Linked DNA regions of Homo sapiens: regions 1, 2, 3, 5, 6 and 7 are each linked to region 4. The links are contacts of gene promoters, found by promoter capture Hi-C in blood cells and fetal thymus (Javierre and others, 2016). All regions are on one chromosome and are shown on one strand. The core of a region is centred on a gene start or on the middle of the fragment in contact, and the rest is flanking DNA. Distances in the headings are between cores, read along the strand shown. Region 1 has its middle 3.2 kb from the start of C1QTNF2. Region 2 holds the start of PWWP2A (PWWP domain containing 2A). Region 3 has its middle 24 kb from the start of CCNJL. Region 4 holds the start of CCNG1 (cyclin G1). Region 5 has its middle 45 kb from the start of PWWP2A. Region 6 overlaps PWWP2A (PWWP domain containing 2A). Region 7 holds the start of CCNJL (cyclin J like).

Region 1 (3,106 bases), core at 84-2,583, 3.1 Mb after region 4:
TGGTGTGATTACTTTCACATTACCAACATGACATCACTAAACTCAGAGTTGGGAAGAGATGCATGGAATTGGCTGCTGGGATCCACCAAACCACAAGTTAAGAATGCAAAGAAGGGATTTTCTTCATACTGTTCTATGCTGAGAGGACTTCATAAAAGAGGAAAGATTTGGACTAGGCATTGAAGGATATTGATTAGGACTTTCCATGGTAACTGACAGAAACAATTCAAACTAGCTTAAAGAAAGAAAAAGAATATGAGAATGAACCTGTTTTAGCACAAGTATCTGAAAAAAGGGCTTTAATAATGTAGTCATGGCACTTGCTCCACCTTTCAGTTCTTCTTGAATCTACTTCTATTTGTGTATTCATGTCATTGTCTCCTGCCATAAGCAGGCTGTCTCCAAGTGGCAGGAAAAACATGGCTAGTGGCAGCCCAGGGGCTACCTCTTTGCAGTCAACAATTCAAAAGAAAAGCAATGCACTCTTATGGAGATCACGTGGAAAGACTGATTGGCTCACTTGGATCTCATGCCCACCAATTCAACTCCTAACTGGGCAGAAAGGGAAAGGGTATGTAATTCACATGCCCCTGGCACTGTAGCCAGAGAGCAGACAGAGCACTAAGATAGACCTCTCTTCCCCTACCACCCAAAACACATGAGAGTCATCCAAACAGAGTTCACCAATGGAAAAAGCCATGAATTTCTGGTAGAAATAATGGTAAGGCTTTGTGGAGAGGTAGAAGAAGATATAGTAATTAGAGGGAATGGCATATGTAGGTGCAGAAATGTAAACATTGATGGTGCATTTGGGAGTCAGTGAGAAAACCACCCTGAGCAAAGCAGAGCTTACCTATAAGACAGTGGTTTGCAACAGAGGGCAATTTTGCCCCTCTGGAAAGATTTGGCAAAGTCTGAAGACATTTTTGTTGTCCCAGCTGGGGTCGAGGAGGGCTGCTACTAGTAGGTAGTATCTAGTGGGTAGAGGCCAGAGATCCTGCTAATCCTACAATGCATAGGACAGTCCCCTCAACAAAAAAAGGCTGAGTTTAGGCTTTATCCTCTGTTACACAGGGAAGCATTAGAAAGATATTTAGAAGGACTAAGGTAGCTTGTACATACCCTGCTCCTTCTGCCTGGCACCACTCCTCACCTTGGCTACCTTTGTATGACTAGCCCTTTTTTATCCTTTGGGACTCAGCTTAAATATCACCTACTGAAGAGATCATCTAGACTTTTCAATCAAAGTAGGTTATCTCACAGACTTCATACCGTTATTCTTTCCCATGTTTCCCTCTTATTTTCACCACAATTTTGAATTATATGTTTATTTGGTTGCTGGTTTCACATCTGTCTCATAAGGAGAGACCTTCCTTATTCATTCATCACTGTGAGCTCAACATCAAGCAGAGTGCCTGGTGCATTGTAGTTGCTGATATTTAATCAATGATTAATCTGAAGGTTGATGGGAGGATTGAAATGGGGTTGAGCATAGGAGGTGGATAGAAAGAGGAAAGAAGGCAGTCCTCTAGATTTCTTCTCTGCTTGTTCTGATCCACACTCATCTCCTTTCCCTGACTTTCACAGCACCTATAGTTCATAACATGACATGTCAGTTAGGATTTTAAGCAGACATGAATTTAATAAAAAGAATCAAATAGACTCAGAACCATTGCAGAACAAGTTCTGGCTTGGGCTTGCAGGAATGAGTCCCAAAACCTGCCGTCGTACTAACCCCACCACCCCAAGGGATGTGGCCTTCTGCCACAATCAGGAGGCCGGCGACTGGCCTAGTCTGACTACAAGAACACAACATCTTAGGTGTAATCTGGGGATCAGGAACTGGCAGAACTCTAGAGTCACACTGCATCTTCCAGGTCACCACCAGCAAAGTGGATTCCTCCCAGGCTGCTACCTCCTCTTCACATAACTGTTTTTGTTTTTTGTTTTTCTGAACACAATTTTGAATTCAGGTCTTTCCCAGGTGCACAGGACTGGCTAAACCTAAATTATAATGGGAGCCCCAACAGCAAGGAGTCTAGGAAATGGATTTTTAGCTTTCTAGTCTCTGTTGTATAGGAAAGCACACCAAGAAAAGTTTGGACAATTGTGGAACAAGCCAATCTGCCACATCTGCCTCATGGCTGCCCCGCTCTGTGGCCATCAATGTCATAATATCATTCGTCTTCTCTAGGTGGATACTAGCATGTTCTCTAGATGTGAATGGATGTGAAATGAATTGAATGAAATCGAAGGGGAAAATCCTCCTCTTTCATGTTCACACTTTGCACCTTTCCTATGGCACTTAATTGTATTTTGCCTCCTGGTGTAATTTGTGTTCTCATTCAGAAGTTCATCTCTTTGTCCCCATACTCATAATAGGTAATAAATGTTTATAGACTGTGGCCGGGTGCAATGGCTCACGCCTGTAATCCCAGCACTTTGGGAGGCCGAGGCAGTTGGATGACATGAGGCCAGGATTTCAAAACCAGCCTGAGCAAAATAGTGAAGCCCCATCTCTACTAAAAGTACAAAAATTAGCCTAGTGTGGTGTTGCGCGCCTGTGGTCCCAGCTACTTGGCAGGCTGAGACGGGAGAATCGTTTGAACCCGGGAGGTGGAGATTGCAGTGAGCTGAGATTGTGCCACTGCACTCCAGCCTAGGCAACAGAGCAAGACTCCATCTTAAACAAACAAACAAACAAATGTTCGTAGACTGAATTCAAGCAGAGAGTAAAGACAGAGAGAGGCTAGGGAGAGGAAGTTCTAAGCCCCATTCTAGCTTGACACAGTTCCTGCAGCTCGTGGAACTGCCACCGGACAAGTATTTTGGATTGCATGCTACATGAAGCCATCACCACTGCAAGGAACCATAGGACAGGGACCCAGGAACTCTGCTAGGCTTCAGGAAACCTAGGTTCCAGGTATCCTTCAAAAGTTGGAAAAACATGTGCCCCCATTCATTCAATCAGTAGTGTTTATTAAATGTTTCACACTACCAGGTATAGCAGCACTGCCTTTCTTAACTTTTCATTAACCTTTTTTTTTTAACCAATGAGAGCATGCCAGTGATTTCAACCTCTGTCATGATGGAGCCACATGGATAA
Region 2 (2,700 bases), core at 183-2,682, 3.3 Mb after region 4:
CCACGAGCCACTTGGTTTGAAATAGGCAGAGCATATGGTGATATTTGTTTATTGCTATTTTCAGTCTTTTCCATGTAAAACTGAAATTCTGACTATGCAATTTACCAGCCGAGTAACCTTGGGCACCCTCTTTGTGCCTCAAAATTTTAAGGATTGAGATGATATGCTATAGTGTTTGTATTAGTGCCTGGTACATGGTACTCAAAAGACACTAGCTGTAATTATTCTTCAGGACTTTATTTTTTTTACTTTCATTGCTAGCAGTTTTTCTACCCTCTCTCCTGCAGGCATTCTCCCAGAAAAAAGGCTGACTCTGTGGTGCCATTTGAGAGAAATAGGTTCAGTAGATTCTTCCAGAGATGACAAACGAAAAGACTTGATGTGGAAGTAAGAGAAGTAGGGGCGTCAGGACACTGAAGTGAGAGATCTTTTGTTCTCGTGGCATTGGAGAAGCCAGGAAAGAAAAAGGCTTTAGCAGGGACCAGGTGCGTCCACTTTGCAAGTGGATTTGGAGAGAACAAGCAGTGTTCACATATCAGTCCAGCAATGTCTCAAGACTCCTTCCTGGAACAGTCATCAGTTTAATCCAGTGAGGATGGTGTCTCTCTTCTTTCATGAGCATTTTCCTATTTCTGAAATATTAATAAATAGGTGCTTTGTTCCTAGGAAGTGGAGAGAAGTCAAGGAAAATACTCATCATACTCCTAGAAGTCAAGGAAAATACTCCTCGTACTCCTCATGGCCGCTGGAGCCCGCTGCTATGAGGTTATGGAGAACGTCTTGAACATTCCATTCCCCAGCACCTAGTGCAGTGACTAGCATAGTAGGCACTCAAAAAGTGTCTGTAGGATTGTATTTCAAACTTTAGTTGTCTTTCCCAAAGAAGCCTGTCGTGCCCACACGCGGCCGCAAGAAGTCCGCGCCTAGAAATAACATTTATTCTAAGGATCTCTGCGCAGAGATTCTTGGGAAGCGGTTCCCCTCCCGCATTCCCTTGTTACTCCTCCCCTCGGCCGCCTTTGAAAGAAGTGGCACGCCACATGATTCCATCCTTTCTCCCACCTCCAAAGACCTGGCTGATAATGGGCAGGAGCGTAGGCCAACCATAAAACTTTATTTCCTCTTCCAGCCAATAGCAAGAGGCGATGAGTATATGGCTCCTCTTTTGTGACTTCCCCCGCCCCCTTTGATTCCGCCCCCTATTCCTCCACTCAGATTCCACACTTGACAACACATCTGGCCAATGAGAAGTTCCTACTCTGCGTGGGAAGGATGGACTGACTAGATGATAGACGTCCATCCCTGGCCAATGGAATATCAAAAGTGCGGGAGGGGTGTAGAATGCAACCAATGGCGAGGTGCCAGAAACGAGCATCAGGGAAAGGGCGGGACGAAAGTGTTCGCGGGAGGGAGGGGAAGGCCCAGGGAACCAAGCAGCGCTGTCGCCGCCGCCGCTGCAGCCGGAGTTGGAGGAGGGAGAAGCTAGGAAGAAAATGGCGGCCGTGGCTGCAGAGGCGGCAGCGACTGCAGCGTCCCCCGGGGAGGGGGGCGCCGGCGAGGCCGAGCCGGAGATGGAGCCCATCCCCGGCAGTGAGGCCGGCACTGACCCCCTCCCGGTCACGGCCACTGAAGCGTCTGTGCCGGATGGCGAGACTGACGGGCAGCAATCCGCTCCTCAGGCCGACGAGCCGCCGCTCCCGCCGCCACCGCCGCCGCCGGGGGAGCTCGCCCGCAGCCCAGAGGCGGTGGGGCCGGAGCTGGAGGCTGAGGAGAAACTGTCCGTTCGGGTGGCGGAGTCGGCGGCAGCCGCGCCTCAGGGAGGGCCGGAACTTCCACCTTCTCCTGCATCGCCGCCGGAGCAGCCCCCGGCTCCCGAGGAGCGCGAGGAGCCGCCGCTGCCTCAGCCCGTAGCCCCGGCGCTCGTGCCGCCGGCGGGCGGGGACTCCACGGTGTCGCAACTGATCCCGGGCTCGGAGGTGCGGGTCACGCTGGACCACATCATTGAGGACGCGCTTGTCGTGTCGTTCCGCTTCGGGGAGAAGCTCTTCTCCGGGGTCCTCATGGATCTGTCCAAAAGGTACCGCGCCCGCCCCCAGCACCCTCCGGTCCGCTGGGTCCCCAGGGAGGGAGTGAGCCCGGGCGGCCCCCTCTCCCCGAGCCCTCGCTTCCCCGCTGCCCGGGGCCCCGCCCTCTGGTCCTGCGCGGCGCGTGGCGCGCGCTCCGAGTGGGGCAGGCGCGCGAGACCGGGAGAGGGCGGTCCCGGCCCCAGGTGGGCGCCTGCGGGGCAGGTGTGCCACCAGGTGGGAGGGTGCAGGTGCAGATGGGCTCACAGGTCTCACCCCTCACGCCTGGTCTTCTTCTGCGACTTGGCCTGGAGTCACCGTCACTGGGCGGGTGGGTTAATGCAAGATGCAGATGGATTTTTGCAGAGAACGGAGTGTTGGACGGGGGGACGGGGGGGCGGGGGGCATTGCTTGCGAGGAGGCACTTGTCTGTCCTCTAACGTTTAACTTTAGCGGGATTGGAGAAAGGGGTGTGTACATTGGGGTTCCCAAAAGGTTACCTGTCACTCCTTACAGGGGGAAGAGCATTTGTTAAAATGAACCTTTTAACTGTAATTCTTACGGTTAGAAGTCATTCCCGTTAGGTTAACCATTCAACAGAGAAGCATATTTTGCTAATTTTAATGATAGTTTAAGA
Region 3 (2,765 bases), core at 45-2,544, 3.1 Mb after region 4:
TGGTTGAGGTGAGCCCTGAAAGTCCCAAAATTAAACGGAGGTGAGGGGTGTTTGCAGAACTCAGAGTATGTGTGTGATCTGTAGTCAGCAAATGGTCATTTGGCTCTATTTTAAATTTAGGCCCAGTTAGCCACTCAGGATCTATCTTGAAGGATTGGTTCTTTCAGGTTCACATTTGTTCACAATTCACTCATTTCCAACTAAATATTAAGAAGAACACGTAACTGTGCTGATTGGGCCTACTTTCAATTCATGCCTACAAATCTCCAATGGCACAAAATGTAACCTGGCAACATTTTGTTGGAAGGAGCTCTACCAGCTCCTTCCCAACCCCCGACATTCTCAATGCAACGTCCCTAAGGTGGGAGTCAACATGGTTGGCTCAAGGAGCAGAGTAACAGGAAGAGAGTGGCAGGTGATGACCTCAGAAAGGTTACAAGCACCCAGATCATGTAGGGCCCTGCAGAACTGGTAACCACTTGGCTTTTATGCTGAGTGAGACGTGAAATAATTGGAGGGCTTTGAGCAGATGCGCGATGAAGTCTGGTTTCAATTATAACAGCATTCCTCCAGCTACTATTTGAGAATAGACTGTGAGGGGCAATGACAAAAGAGGGAGACAGGAGATTAGTTTAATAATCCCAGCAGCCAAGTTCGGTGGCTTACACCTGTAATCCCAGCACTTTGGGAGGCGAGGCGAGACAGAAGGATCTTTTCAGCCCAGGAGTTCAAGACCAGCCTGGGCAACATGGTGAAAACCTGTCTCTACACCCTAAAAAAAAAAAAAATCAAAAATTTGCCGGGCATGGTGGTACGTGCCTGTAGCCCCAGCTACTCAGAAGGCTGAGGTGGGAGGATTGCTTGAGCCCAGGAGGCAGAGGCTGCAGTAGTCCATGATCGTGCCACTGCTCTCCAAGCTGGGCAACAGAGCTAGACCCTGTCAAAAAAAAAAAAAAAAAAAAGAAAGAAAAAGAAAGAAGGAAGGAAGGGAGGGAGGGAGGAAAAAAAAAATCCCAGCAAGGGATGATGGGAGCTTGGCCCCAAGTGGTTGCAGGAAAGAGGTAAGAAACGATGTAATTTTGGCCGTCTTTGGAGATAGAGCCAACAGGTTTCACTGAGTATTTGGATGTGGCCTGTGACGGAAAGTGAAGGGTCAACACTGACATAAAGGTTTTTGCCTGAGCAACTTTAAGGCTGGAATTGCCCTTCACCAGGATGGGAAACACTGCTCCTGGGAGGAGTGGGAGGAGCAGGCTCTGTGGATGGGAGCAGGAGGTGAGTAAATAGAGTTTGTTTTGAGAAACATTGTGTCAGAGATGTCTATAAAACATCTGTGTAAGTTTCCTAGAGCTGCCATAACAGATTACCACAAACTGTGGCTTAAAACAACAGAAATGGATTCTCCCACAGTTCTGGAACCCAGAGTCTGACATCTACATGTCAGCAGCAGGGCCGCGCTTACTCTGAAGGATCTTGGTTGGATTCTGTTCCTTGCCTCTTCCAGCTTCTGGTGGCCATCAGCATTCCTTGACTTGCAGCTGCATTGCTGCAGTCTCTGCCTCCTTGGTCACACAGCCTTCTCCTCTTCTGAGTGGTTCTCCTCTCTTTGTGTCTTATAAGAACACTTCTATTTGACTTAGGGACCCTCTTAGAGATCTTCTCACCTCAAGACCCTTAATTACATCTGCAAAGACCCTTTTTCCAAATAAGGCCACATTCACAGGTTCCAGACATTTGATGTAGACATATTCTTTTGAGGACTGTCATCAACAACTAAGTTGAGATGGCAAATGGGTAGTTGAATGTATGAGTCTGGAGTTCAGAGAAGAGTTCTGGACTGACGATATAAATTTAGAAGTCCTCAGTCTATAGATGGCTTTTAAGCCATGGTTCTAGAGAGATCACAAGGGGGAAGAATTCAAATAAAGAAGGGGAGAGTCTGAAGACTGAGTCCTGGGACACTCTGGTATTTGGATTGTGGACGATGAGGAGGACTGAAAAGTAAGTGGTTGCTACAGAGCTAGAAGAGAATCAAGAGACTGTGATGCTGGAAACCAAAGATACTGTTAAAAAGAGCAAGGGGTCTGGGTGTAGTGTCTCATGCCTGTAATTCTAGCACTTTGGGAAGCTGAAGCGGGAGGATCACTTGAAGCCAGGAATTTGAGAATGGCTTGGACAACAAAGCAAAACATTGTTTCTACAAAAAAAAAAAAAAATTTCAAAAAAAAAAATTAGACATGATGGCATTTGTCTATAGTCCCAGCTATCTGAGAGGCTGAGGCAGGAGGATCTCTTGAGCCCAGGAGTTCAAAGGCTGCAGCGAGCTATGATCACGCCACTGCACTCCAGCTTGGGCAACAGAGACCCCATCTCAAAAAAAAGAGAAAGAAAGAAAGACGAAGGAATGATCAACCATATCAGATGATGCAGACTAAGTGTTGACCATTGGCTTTAGCAAGATGGAGATCAGAGACCTTGAAAGAGCATTTTGGGTGGAGGAATGGAGGCAAAACATGCCCAGGCAAGAGACAATAGGAAGCTGTACTCTAGCAACTTTCTTGTGGATTCTTTGGGATTTTCTGTATATAAAAATATATAAATTCTATATATCCAGGTACATAAAAATATAGATATATAAATAGATCATAAACTATATAGTCTACATTATATATAAACAGATATATTAAAATGTAATTTTTCTTTTAGATGGAGTCTCGCTCTCTTGCCCAGGCTGGAGTACAGTGGCATGATCTCTGCTCACTGCA
Region 4 (2,928 bases), core at 110-2,609:
CCCTGGTTCAAGCGATTCTCCTGCCTCAGCCTCCCGAGGAGCTGGGATTACAGGCATGCGCCACCGCGCCCAGCTAATTTTTATATTTTTAGTAGAGACGGGGTTTCACCATGTTGGCCAGGATGGTCTCGGTCTCCTGGCCTTGTGATCTGCCCGCCTCGGCCTTCCAAAGTGCCGGGATTACAGGCGTGAGCCACCGCGCCCGGTCGGAACCATGCTTTTTAGAAAAATAAAATGCAAATCTTCAAGAAATACTTGTTCAAGTTATTCACTGTCAATAGATAACCACGAATAAACACCGTAAGACAGGATACCGAAAGTGAAAAGCAGATGGTAGTTAAGTATTCTGCCACATATTAACAAAATGAACTGTTCAAGTTACTTAATTGTACTTAGTTCCACATTGATAAAGTAGGGATAAGGTTTATGACCTACCTCACAGATTTGTGAGTTAAAATGAAATCACGTAAAGAGCTTAGCACATACAGTAGACGCTTAAAAAACACTGAACAATAATAATGAGCTTGAGCTTCTTTCTAGATTTATAAAATGAGGGTAACAATATCTGTCGCTGAATGTGAAGACTGAACAAGATGATTCACCACTTAAAGAGTATAGCACAGTGCTTGGCACACAATACTCAATATTACTTAACTTTTATTGTTGTTAGGAAAGGAAACTTAAAAGGTGACATTAGGAGCACGTATTGGGGCGGGGGGGTGCGGTGGGTTGTTGCTAACCTAGTCTGAAAGATGAACCTGGGAATTCCATTGATTTAAGTGTGCATAACACAACCATGTCCCGGGCACAAGCTAAGCCCTGGATACATGGAAGGTCCCTCCCACACCAACTAAAGACAGGAAGGCAGGAGGTCTTCAGAGCTAGTCATGTGAGGAACCTCTAACTGCAGGGGTTCCATTCTTCCTCCCCAGGCTAGTCCCTGGGACTGGGTCGGCAGACACGAAAGGCACCTCAGGAGGCCGGATCCGGCTCCGCCCCTCCAGCCTCGGACTAGCCTGGGCTTGTGCTCACAACAGCGGTAGAGTTTAGTGTGGAAAAGGGCGCGGGCCAGACCTACTCCTCGCCCCGCGCCCCCAACCCAGCTCCCCACCCGCACCTGGCGGTCAACTCCCGCGCAGTCCCACTCACCTTGACAGAGACTGCAGCTCCTCAGCGGTAACCACCCTCCCCGGGCCTGCTCACCTCACCCCACGATATCAGATCCGAGAGGCCTACGAGGAGAGGGGACTCGTAGGCAAGAGGAGAGAGGCCCGGGGAGGGGGACTGTCCTGGGTGGAGGCCTCGGCAGCGCCGCCGAGACAACTCGGCCCTGATCAGGGTCAGCTCGGAGCCGAAGGGGCCGCGCCTGCCCTAACGAGGAATATATTGGAGGGCGGGGCTTTCTCGCGAGAAGGGGGCATTTTCGCCGCTGATTGGTGTAATTCTTTTGATGGATGGCCTCCGCGATCCGTAAACGGCTGGGCCGTGGAGTGAGAAGTCCGGCCAATCGGCTCACACTTCCCGTTATCTGGCCTCAAATTCCCCGGCCCCCTTCCACGCCCCTACCTCTAAGCGTCTCTCATTGGAGAATTTAACAAAGTGTCTTCATTCAGTAGGGGGCCAAACTAAATACTCGGTGCAGCAACCCTCGCCTGGGTCAGGTCAATCGGCTGCCAGCCGGATTGGCCGGCGTATCATTCCAGAATGTACTGTTTGTTCTGTGGGGTTTAGGAGTTCTACAGTGGTTCTGCCCCATCTTTCTAAAAATACAGTGAGTAGTTAAAAAAAAAAAAGTCAACCTTTGATTTTTAATTACAGATAAAGAGGTGGTGGAATTTATATGGTTTGGTGGTTTATCAACTTCCAGAGTGCTCTCTTCGTGAACTTTGGAAGTCAGTTGATTCTTGCCTTAGTTTGCTTTTTATACAATTTATCAAATAATGGAGTTGGACTGTGTAATTTCTTGACCCTCTACCAATTTTCTGAATTTGCTTTTAAAGCAAATTTAAAGAGAAAAGTTGGTACAATTTTTCAGTTGCTTAAAATGAAAGGTATGTGGCAGACTGTTAACAGGAATAATTGTGGTGAGTGTGAATCTCAGTCTACAGACCCGAGTGTAAAGCAGTATTACTCTTTGTATTTACCATAATGAATTTAATCTCTGTGAGCCTCTCCTATGCCAGATTAGTGGGAAAATAATTAGCCTGAACTCTTCTTAGACTCTCCTCACTCTCACTCTCCCAGATCATCACAAGTGAGAAAAGTCCATTTGTAAAAGGGCCTGAAAAAGGGTGCACAAGGAGTCATTTCTAAACTCTTATGAATTACACAGTAGTTGGATGTCTCTGTTCTCATGGCCCCAGTTCGGTCTCTCTTACTTTGAAAAAGTGAAAATCTGAAAGATTTGCCGTCACTCTGCTATTTGCCCTGCCGTGTACTTACCCAAGGCAATGCCACAGAACAAAACTCTGGAAAGGGGGAAAAGGGGTGGGGAGGAAGGGGAAGGAAAAACAGGAGAAAACATCAATACCTCACAATAATACCTTAGCCACATAATCAGGTCAGTTTAAGAAACTGGGGCTCAAATGGGGAAGAGGCCTTTGTTCCTTTTGAAAATAAAAGCTTACCTAGTGAATATAAATTGGCAATTTATAACCTTTAACAAGTGATTTTATTTAAAAATACTTTTTGCTGTAATGTGTGAGTTTATAAATGTAGTTTCTCCTTTTGGCTTTTAGTTCCTATTATTCCTAATTCCTAAAATTAGGAATGTATATGCACAATTTTTAAAAAAAATGGCTAAAAAATCATAAAATCTTTATGGCAGGCTGGGCGCGGTGGCCCACACCTATAATCCCAGCACTTTGGGAGGCAGAGGCGGGTGGATTACCTGAGGTCAGGAGTTTGAGACCAACCTGGCCAACATGG
Region 5 (3,075 bases), core at 570-3,069, 3.4 Mb after region 4:
TATGTTTACTTTTTAGGAGTTAGTTTTTAAAGATTTTTTTTTTTTTTTTTTTTTTTTTTACTATTAGAATTCAATCACTAGTTGTACTTTAGGGAGCTGTTTTCAGTAGCAATGCTTCCTAAGGAGAACAGCCTGTAGGTTTCTAATCACTAGGAGATTTTATGGGACCTCTTTATGACGAAGGATGGAGGAAGGGTGAACAGTTTAATTAGGACCCTGTGCACAAACATAACAGCTTTTCGATAGAAACAACCTACCCTTCAGAATTGGATGTAATTAAATATCTGCTGCTGGGTTTGTCTTGTTTTCTTTTGTTTTAATTTTAAGGAATCCTGCCCTTATGGATAAATGGTTGCTTCTTTAAGAGCCCAGCACATTGAGTGAGAGGTCAAGGGTTTGACCTAAGAATCAGAAACACTTGGTTATCAGGAAAAAATTAGCCTTTTAAAACCTACAGACAGTTCACAGGACTGACCCAGAAACTTAGGTCAATGTACTTTTTTTTTCTGTTCAAGAAAAGCAATCCTTTGGCTGCCTGTTATTCCAGAGTACATGAAGGCTTTAATCTCAAACATTCTCCCATTTCAGTTTATTTAAATGAGTGTAAAAAAGAGACCACAGGAATCTGGCTCTGCTAATATCTTTTTTCTCTCAAATTTCTCACTAATGAAAATGGAACAGGGAGAACCAGGGAAGATTAACAAGCCATGTGCTCATTATCTGAGAGGGCCTACAGGAGACTCATACTGATCCTGGTCATGTATACATGTATCAGTATATTTATAGACACAACTCCTACAAGATGGAGGGAATGAATGATGGAACCAATAGAAGCAACTGAAAATCTTACCAATGCTGGCCTTCACATAAGAAAGCGTAAGTTCATTTTTCCTTTTTCAAGTAAAGATTTTTTTTTTTTAATTTAAATAATAGAGACAAGGTCTCGCTTTGTTGTCCAGGCTGGTCTCAAACTCCTGGGCTCAAGTGATCCTCCTGCCTCGGCCTCCCAAAGTGCTGGGATTATAGGCATGAGCCACTGCACCTGGCCATGATTCTTTTATCAGAATAAGAAATTATTTGAATAAAGAGGTTTTTTTTGTTTTTTTTTTTGTTTTTTTGAGACGGAGTCTTGCTCTTGTTGCCCAGGCTGGAGTGCAATGGCACGATCTTGGCTCACTGCAACCTCCGCCTCCCGGGTTCAAGCAATTCTCCTGCCTCAGCCTCCCAAGTAGCTGAGTTTACAGGCATGCGCCACCACCCCTGGCTAATTCTGTATTTTTAGTAGAGATGAGGTTTCTCCCTGTTGGTCAGGCTGGTCTCAAACTCCCGATCTCAGGTGATCCGCCTGCCTCGGCTTCGCAAAGTGCTGGGATTACAGCGTGAACAACTGTGCCTGGACTTTATTTATTTATTTATTTATTTTTTTGAGACAGATTTTCGCTCTTGTTGCCCAGGCTGGAGTGCAGTGGTGCGATCTCGGCTCACTGCAACCTCCACCTCCTGGGATCAAGCGATTCTCCTGCCTCAGCCTCCCGAATAGCTGGGATTACAGGCATGTGCCACAACTCCCAGCTAATTTTGTATTTTTAGTAGAGACAGGGTTTCTCCATGTTGGTCAGGCTGGTCTCGAACTCCTGATCTGAGGTGATCCACCTGCCTCAGCCTCCCAAAGTGCTGAGATTACAGGTGTGAGCCACTGCCTGGCCAGAATATGTTATTTTTTAAGCATCCTTTTCTCTAGTGATTAGCATGCTGCCAAATCTTTGCTTAATCGGAATGAAATTTTTTTTTTTTTTTTTTGAAACGGAGTCTCACTCTGTCACCCAGGCTGGAGTGCAGTGGCACGATCTCGGCTCACTGCAACCTCTGCCCCCTGGGTTCAAGAGATTCTCCTTCCTCAGCCTCCTGAGTAGTTGGGATTACAGGTGCTTACCCCCATGCCCGGCTAATTTTTGTATTTTTAGTAGGGAAGGGGTTTCGCCATGTTGGCCAGGCTGGTCTTGAACTCCCAACCTCAAGTGATCCACCCGCTTTGACCTCCCAAAGTGCTGGGATTACAGGTGTGAGCCACCGCACCCGGCTTGGAATGAAATTTCATGGCCTTAACAATTCCTTTGCTTTGGTACCAACAAGGTAGTGAGCTTGGGGTAAAGGAGAGTATGATTCAGGAAAACTGTGCCAGAAGAAGAGAGAGCTGGCCAAACAGTGGGAAGACATTGTCTTTAAGCGTTAAGAGTACTTTCAGGGTTAGCCCTTTCATTATTTCCTTGTGAGGCAAGTTTGTAGAAGCAGCTGTCTAAAGGAGGGAAAGTGGCTTGGTGATGTTAAAGATGTTTTTGGCCGGGCATGGTGGCTCACGCCTGTAATCCCAGTACTTTGGGAGGTCGAGGAGGGTGGATCATGAGGTCAGGAGATCGAGACCATCCTGGCTAACACGGTGAAACTCTGTCTCTACTAAAAATACAAAAATTAGCCGGGCGTGGTGGTGGGTACCTCTAGTCCCAGCTACTCGGGAGGCTGAGGCAGGAGGATGGCGTGAACCCGGGAGGCAGAGCTTGCAGTGAGCTGAGATCGCGCCACTGTACTCCAGCCTGGGCAACAAAGTGAGACTCCGTCTCAAGAAAAAAAAAAAAAAGAAATGTTTTTATACTAATAACCTGCCTTAGTCTAAAGAGGTAGGAGACATGGATTCTGTTATCAGTTCTATCAATGACCTTTGACAGCAAAGTCACACAGCAGCCTTATTGGCAAAATGAGGTGTAGAAATCCATCTCACCAAGCTCTTCAGTTCCTACTCAGCCAAGGCCGAAACCCCTGGGGAGATGTTAGGATTTTTTTTTTTTTTTTTTTTTTTTTTTTTGAGACGGAGCCTCGCTCTTGTTGCCCAGGCTGGAGTGTAATGGTGCAATCTCGGCACACTGCAACTTCCGCCTCCCAGGTTCAAGTGATTCTCCCACCTCAGCCTCCCGAGTAGCTGGGATTACAGGCACCTGCCATCATGCCTGGCTAATTTTTGATTTACTTATTCATTTATTTATTTTTGAGACGGAGTCTCACTCTGTTACCCAGGCTGGA
Region 6 (2,986 bases), core at 193-2,692, 3.3 Mb after region 4:
AACGCTTGAGTATTTTGTATGCTTATGTGGGAACAGCAGAGAATAAAAACAATCCAGTTGCGAAATATTAACATTCTTACTGAACTTCATAAAGATAAACATACCAGATTCCATTACTTGATATAAACAGCTATAAAATAATTGGCTGGGCCATACTTGCATTGAGAGTATAAATTAAAGACATGGGAAGGAGCCTAAATTCTAGCAAAATTGGCTGGTTGCAGTGGCTCACGCCTGTAATCCCAGCACTTTGGGAGGCTGAGGCTGGTGGATCACTTCAGGCCAGAAGTTCAAAACCAGCTTGGCCAACATAATGAAACCCCATCTACTAAAAATACAAAAATTAGCCAGGCGTGATGGCTCGCGTCTGTAATCCTAGCTGCTCAGGTGGCTGAGGCATGAGAATAGCTTGAACCCAGGAGGCGGTGGTTGCAGTGAGCCGAGATTGTGCCACTGCACTCCAGCCTGGGCGACAGTGAGAGTCTGTCTCAAAAAAACAAAACAACCGCCCCCCCCCCCAAAAAAAAAACCTCTAGTAAATTATTAGGTGTTTTTTGTTTTTGTATTTGTTTTATTTATTTTTATGTTATGTTATTTGAGACGGAGTCTCTCTCTGTTGCTAGGCTGGAGTGCAGTGGTGCGATCTCGGCTCACTGCGACTTTCACCTCCCGGGTTCAAGCGATTCTCCTGCCTCAGCCTCCCGAGTAGTTGGGACTACAGGCGCGTGTCACCACACCCAGCTAATTTTTGTATTTTTAGTAGAGACGGGGTTTCACCATGTTGGCCAGGCTGGTCTTGAACTCCTGACCTCAGGCCTCCCAAAGTGTTGGGATTACAGGCGTGAGCCACTGTGCCTGGCCTTTTTTTTTTTTTTTTTTTTTTTTTTTTGAGACAAAGGCTTACTCACTTGCTCAGGCTGGAGTGCGATAGCGCGAACATGGCTCACTGAAGCCTTGACCTCCCAGACTCAAGCAATCCTCCCACCTCAGCCTCCCAAGTAGCTGGGATCACAGGTACATACCCCCACACCAGGCTAATTTTTCCTATTTGTAGAAACACGGAGTCTTCCTATGTTGCCCAGGCTGGTCTCAAACTCCTGGGCTCAAGCAATTTGCCCACCTCACCCTCCCAAAGTGTTAGGATTGCAGACGTGAGCCACTGCATCAGGCTGTAAGTTACTAGTTTGAAAATAAGATTAAATCACTTACATGAAGCAAATTAAATAAAGTAAATATTAACCAAGGAAAATGGCTGCCGCGTATTCACCTATTGATCTTTATCTGAATCCTTTTAAGGTCAGAAATAGTGTTTCATTTTACACATGCAAAAATGAGTTTAGAGGATACAAACAGTTGATAAAAGACAGCTGTGAAACTTCACCTCAAACATTAAGATAAGTATGGTTTAGTTAGTCCTAATAAAAGGAAGGGAGCCAGGCATGGTGGCAGGTGCCTGTAGTCCCAACTACTTGGGAGGCTGAGATGAGAGGATTGCTTGAGTTCAGGAGGTTGATGCTGCAGCAATCCATGATTGCACCACTGCGTTCCAGCTTGAGTGACAGAGTGAGGCACCGTCTCTATAAAAAAATTTTATAAATCAGTAAGAGGAAGGGCACTTCTCTTCATTCAGGTATTGAAACGTGAACATGTGATGGGGGCAAAATTATGCCTTCTTACAAGTTAGAAAATGTTATTGTTAATGCAAGTAGTGATATCACATCAAATAAGTCACATTGTTTATGTTGGTTCTGCATTAAAACACAAGAAGCACCTCTTTTGTCCTGTCATCTTTTGAAAAAGTGGTTAATGAGCACCTATGTACTGTGTAAGAAAGGGTTAAATGCTTAAAGTTACTTTGAGTTAAGTAGTCAGGAAGCAAACACTTGGTTACCAGAAGTTAGAATGGAGAAAGCAACTTTCTGTGCAGTCTGATACAATAGGAGGTACCTTTCCTTTTTGGACTATCCGAGACCTAATCTTGTCTTACCGTAGGTAAAAAAAAAGCCTTTCCTTTTTATGTTTTGTAAGTATTTGCTGTAAGTTGTTGGTTTGTGGTAGCCAGACTAACAAAGAATTTTGGGAAAAAAGTATTCAGGTGCTAGAATAATACCTGGTGTATGCTGGCTCTTTGTAAATCCTGCCCACGTTTAGGTTTGTCCACAGCTGTTAGTACCTAATATCAAGATTTCTTCCTAGCAAAGGTATTCTGAACCTTTTTGGGAGCATAAGAACATTTCTGGCTGGACACGGTGGCTCACGTCTGTAATCCCAGCACTTTGGGAGGCTGAGGTGGGCAGACTGCTTGAGCTCAGGCATTCGCCTGGACAACATGGTGAAACCCTGTCTCTACAAAAAATACTAAAATTAGCCAGGCATGGTGACGTGTGTCTGTGGTCCCAGCTACTTGGGAGGCTGAGACGGGAGGATTGCTTGAGCCTAGGAGGTCGAGGCTGCAGTGAGCTGTGATGGTACCACTTGCACTGCAGCCTGGATGACAGAGTGAGATCTTGTCTTTAAAAAAAAAAAAAAAAAAAAAAAAGAACATTTCGGAGAATCTGAGCACTGAAGATTTGTAGTGTAGAAAATATAGACATATATAAAACACTGGCATCTAGTTTTGAAGGTTCCACGTGACTGACTACCTGAAGCCAATCTTTGGGTTTAGATCTAAGCCCCTTTGCCTTACAGGATTGGCATTACAGTTGTATTGTGTTAGATATTGTTGGAATCAAATAGTGCATATAGTCAACATGCTAACCTATATGCTGAAATTATTTGGTAGTGTGATTTGATTTTATGTGAAGAAAACTTAGTATAGCAAGTTTATTTTAAGGATCAGGTTCTTGATATTCAGCCCAGGCACGTTAAGCCACTGTTATTTCTAACTCTATTTATGAAATAAGGTTATTAGAAACTGAGAATTTTAAAGATTCGTATTAGATACCATGGTTTGCAAACAGAGTCTGGACCCGTAATGGAGTTTTCA
Region 7 (3,049 bases), core at 396-2,895, 3.1 Mb after region 4:
TGAATTCCTTCTCTGACGGCATACCTACTCATGTCTTGCATCCATTTCTGCACGTAGGGTGTTAATGTTTTACATACCGATTTATCAGAGGTCTAGAAAGTAGCATCAACCTTTTGTCACATTTGTTAAAAATATTTTCTCAAATTTGTCGTTTGCCTTTTTGGCAATGATAATTGATGTATCTAGATCCTGCATATTTATTCAAATTTGTCTACTCACCTTGCCTTTGGTTTCTTCCCATGTCTTAGTATCTAGGCCTTCCCCTCCGTATAATTCGTGTATGTTTTCTTCTTATCCTCTTGTGATTTGCTTGTTTGTAGTTCTCTGAGTTCTTATATTTATTTTGGTGATATTTAAACAAGTCCTTAGTTTTACTTTTTTCCCCCAACCTAATTTATTAAATAATTTAGCCGTTTATACTTGTCCCAACAAAGTGAAATGCCACATTTATCATACAGTGAATTTTTAAATATATTAAATTTTCCTAGACTTTCAGTTATTCCACTGATGCTTAATCCATCCATTCTTGTGTGAACACTACACTGTTTTAACTATAGTGTTGCAATATGCTTTAAGATTTGATAATACAGGTCTGTCCCCCCAGTTTTTTTGTTCGTTTGTTTGTTGAGACGGAGTTTCACTCTTGTTGCCCAAGCTGGAGTGCAGTGGCACGATCTCGGCTCACTGCAACCTCCGCCTCCCAGATGCAAGTGACTCTCCTGCCTCAGCCTACCAAGTAGCTGGGATTACAGGCGTGCACCACCACACTCGGCTAATTTTTTGTATTTTTAGTAGAAACAGGGTTTCACCATGTTAGCCAGTTTGGTCTCAAACTCCTGACCTCAGGTGATCTGCCTGCCCTTGGCCTCCCAAAGTGTTGGGATTACAGGCGTGAGCCACCGCGCCCCGCCATCCCCCCATTTTTAAAATATAAATTTCTTAGCTTTTCTCGCAGATATTCTCCCATTTGAAGGTTAGAAAACATGTTAAGTGCCCCCTCCTCCAATCTACCCACAACCATTAAAATTTTATTAAATAGAGTAATTTGGGTTAAGTTGGTGTTTGTGCCTCTATTCCTTCAAGCCTTCTTTATTATGTTTCAACCTTTGTAATGTCTTCATTAAGAGCCTGCACATTTATTCAGTTTATTTTTAGGTATCTTACACTTTTAAAATGGTTCGTTTGTTTTACATTAAAACTGCTCTTCAAGGTCCAATTGAAGCTTATCAAAGCTGATTTAATTTTTTTTTCCCAGGTGTGTCTTTATGTGCAGGAAAGCAGTCAGAAACTAAAGGCTCTTCAGTCACAGTTGTTTACTGAGTGTTCACTTAATACCTGGTGTAGTGATTATCCCTTTACACGCATTATCTCCTTTAATTTTCAGCAGGTTGGTTTAACTTTTATTTCCATTTTACACACGAGGCTCTGAGTTTGAGGAACTTGACAAAAATCACCCAGTTGGTAAGTGGATTTGATTCCAAATTTGTGAATCTCCAAAACTATCACAAAAATCAATCAGCCAAGAAGGATAGCCCAATGCTATGCCATCAGATGGGCTGACTCAAAAGGATGACTTTCCAAAAGCAAGCAATTGAATTAAAAAGACAATGTTTTCCATCCACCGGACCCGGCAAAAAAAGACTGGTTTTCCTCCAATGTGAGGCATAGTTCATATTCTGCAGGAGCACAATAATACCAGTGACTTAGGCTCCTTTAGAATTAGGGACTCGTGGGTGAACAAGGGTGGTTTTTCTGCAGCTTTCACTGGAATTGTCCGTTTGGAAATCTACCTCCCCATGGCAGGGCGGGTTTCAAAGAAGAGGAGAACAAACAAAAAACAAAAACAGGAAAAAAAAAAAAAGAGAGAGAGAAAGAAAAACAGGTGGAACCGACGTAAGGATGGCTAGAGCAGTGCGCGCGGAAGGCAGAACTTTCTGGGGGCGTCCTGTCCGCACGTTTCACGCGTGGTGCGCGCAGGTGGCGCCGCGGTCCCTTTGCTCCCTGCGCAAGCCGGAGGGGTGCCCAGAAGGCTACCACTAGCCTCAGCGAAGGTGAGAGAGAAGCTTTCCGCCGAAGCGAGGGAGGAGGGCGGGCAGGAAGCGGAGCCAGAGCTGGCAAAGAAAGGCTCCAATTCCCAGCCCCCCGCCCCGCGGGGCGCGGGGGCGCCGGCAGCGCATGCGCGAGGCCCGGCCCCCAATTCCCCCAGCGAGGGAGGGAGGCCCCCGGCGGCCGGGAGCCTGCGAGCCGCGGCGGGACCCGAGCGCACGCAGGGGCGCGGCGACGGCGGGGGCTAGTCGGGCTGCGGAGGCGGCCGTCGGGAGTGCGGAGCGCCTCGGACGAGGGTCCAACCGCCGGCAGGCACCAGAGGGCACGGCTGGCTCGGCACTGGGAGGGGCCCGGCGCTCGCAGCCCCCCACGCCCAGAGAGGATGCGTGAGTTTCGCCCCGGCTCGAGGGCAGGATGTGGGAGCAGGACAAAGGCTGGGCGGCGGGGGAGGAGTTGGGGACGGCGAGCCTGTGGCCGCCGCCAGAGCCCCAGCCTCGAGCGAGCTAGCGGAGTTGACAACTTTCTCTGCAACTTTTGCAAAAGGGAAGATAAAAATTCTGCAAGTTGTTGCACAGCTCCATATCGCCCCGTGTCCGGCGAGCAGAGGGGAGGGGGCACCGCAGCCTTCCGCGGACCAGAGGCGACCTCCAGCTCCTCTGAGCGGCGCAGGAGGGGGCGCCCGCCGGGGCCCGGGGCCAGGGGCGAGAGAGGATAGGGACACCGGGGGTCGGAGCCCGGGGTACGCTCTGGCCGCTGAAGTTGCCCGTGTCCACGCAGGGTGCGCCCTGAGAGCCGGGTAGCCTCGGATAGCGGCGCTGCGTACGCGATGATGGATGAGCCGTGGTGGGAAGGGCGCGTCGCCTCGGACGTCCACTGCACCCTGCGCGAGAAGGTCAGTCCCTCCCTGCCCTTGTCACTCTCAAGACTGGGTACAGTCTCCTTCGGTCTCGACTTCGTGTTCTCAGGTCGCCTGCGTGGGAACTCAGAACTCCCGGGTGCCTTT

The links. Contacts are between HindIII fragments. The CHiCAGO score rates a contact against its expected background, and 5 or more counts as called.
Region 1: a contact is called between a fragment that was not itself captured here and the fragment with the promoter of CCNG1 in region 4, in 2 of 17 cell types (activated CD4 T cells and total CD8 T cells). The highest score is 7.7, in activated CD4 T cells.
Region 2: a contact is called between the fragment with the promoter of PWWP2A here and the fragment with the promoter of CCNG1 in region 4, in 3 of 17 cell types (naive CD8 T cells, non-activated CD4 T cells and activated CD4 T cells). The highest score is 7.8, in naive CD8 T cells.
Region 3: a contact is called between a fragment that was not itself captured here and the fragment with the promoter of CCNG1 in region 4, in 1 of 17 cell types (naive CD8 T cells). The highest score is 5.4, in naive CD8 T cells.
Region 5: a fragment that was not itself captured here is called in contact with the fragment with the promoter of CCNG1 in region 4 in 2 of 17 cell types (non-activated CD4 T cells and total CD4 T cells); the score reaches 8.0 in non-activated CD4 T cells.
Region 6: a contact is called between a fragment that was not itself captured here and the fragment with the promoter of CCNG1 in region 4, in 2 of 17 cell types (non-activated CD4 T cells and activated CD4 T cells). The highest score is 8.2, in non-activated CD4 T cells.
Region 7: a contact is called between a fragment that was not itself captured here and the fragment with the promoter of CCNG1 in region 4, in 2 of 17 cell types (fetal thymus and erythroblasts). The highest score is 6.0, in fetal thymus.

What each region holds. Positions count from the first base shown.
Region 1 is chr5:160,372,285-160,375,390 of GRCh38, reverse strand. No RefSeq gene overlaps it. Among named protein-coding and RNA genes, the nearest start is that of C1QTNF2, 3.2 kb to the right of the region's middle. The HindIII fragment of the contact is 4,183 bases long and covers 1-3,106 here.
Region 2 is chr5:160,118,182-160,120,881 of GRCh38, reverse strand. PWWP2A (PWWP domain containing 2A) reads left to right here and starts at 1,432. Exons shown (of 2, transcript NM_001130864.2): 1 at 1,432-2,077. The coding sequence starts at 1,494. RefSeq lists silencers at 1,307-1,356, 1,517-1,616, 1,717-1,896, 2,017-2,436 and an enhancer at 1,381-1,880. The HindIII fragment of the contact is 17,972 bases long and covers 1-2,700 here.
Region 3 is chr5:160,335,201-160,337,965 of GRCh38, reverse strand. It overlaps a transcript of CCNJL not described here. Among named protein-coding and RNA genes, the nearest start is that of CCNJL, 24 kb to the right of the region's middle. The HindIII fragment of the contact is 6,065 bases long and covers 1-2,765 here.
Region 4 is chr5:163,436,026-163,438,953 of GRCh38, reverse strand. It overlaps CCNG1 (cyclin G1), which reads right to left and starts at 1,359. Exons shown (of 7, transcript NM_004060.4): 1 at 1,150-1,359. It also overlaps a transcript of LOC105377700 not described here. RefSeq lists enhancers at 795-994, 686-1,263, 1,705-1,754 and a silencer at 1,435-1,514. The HindIII fragment of the contact is 4,161 bases long and covers 1-2,624 here.
Region 5 is chr5:160,072,790-160,075,864 of GRCh38, reverse strand. It overlaps a transcript of PWWP2A not described here. Among named protein-coding and RNA genes, the nearest start is that of PWWP2A, 45 kb to the left of the region's middle. The HindIII fragment of the contact is 4,000 bases long and covers 1-3,075 here.
Region 6 is chr5:160,095,240-160,098,225 of GRCh38, reverse strand. All of the region lies in intron 1 of PWWP2A (PWWP domain containing 2A), which reads left to right. Among named protein-coding and RNA genes, the nearest start is that of PWWP2A, 23 kb to the left of the region's middle. The HindIII fragment of the contact is 7,889 bases long and covers 1-2,986 here.
Region 7 is chr5:160,311,747-160,314,795 of GRCh38, reverse strand. It overlaps CCNJL (cyclin J like), which reads left to right and starts at 2,232. Exons shown (of 6, transcript NM_001308173.3): 1 at 2,232-2,432; 2 at 2,824-2,938. The coding sequence starts at 2,873. RefSeq lists silencers at 2,014-2,073, 2,184-2,303. The HindIII fragment of the contact is 841 bases long and covers 1,225-2,065 here.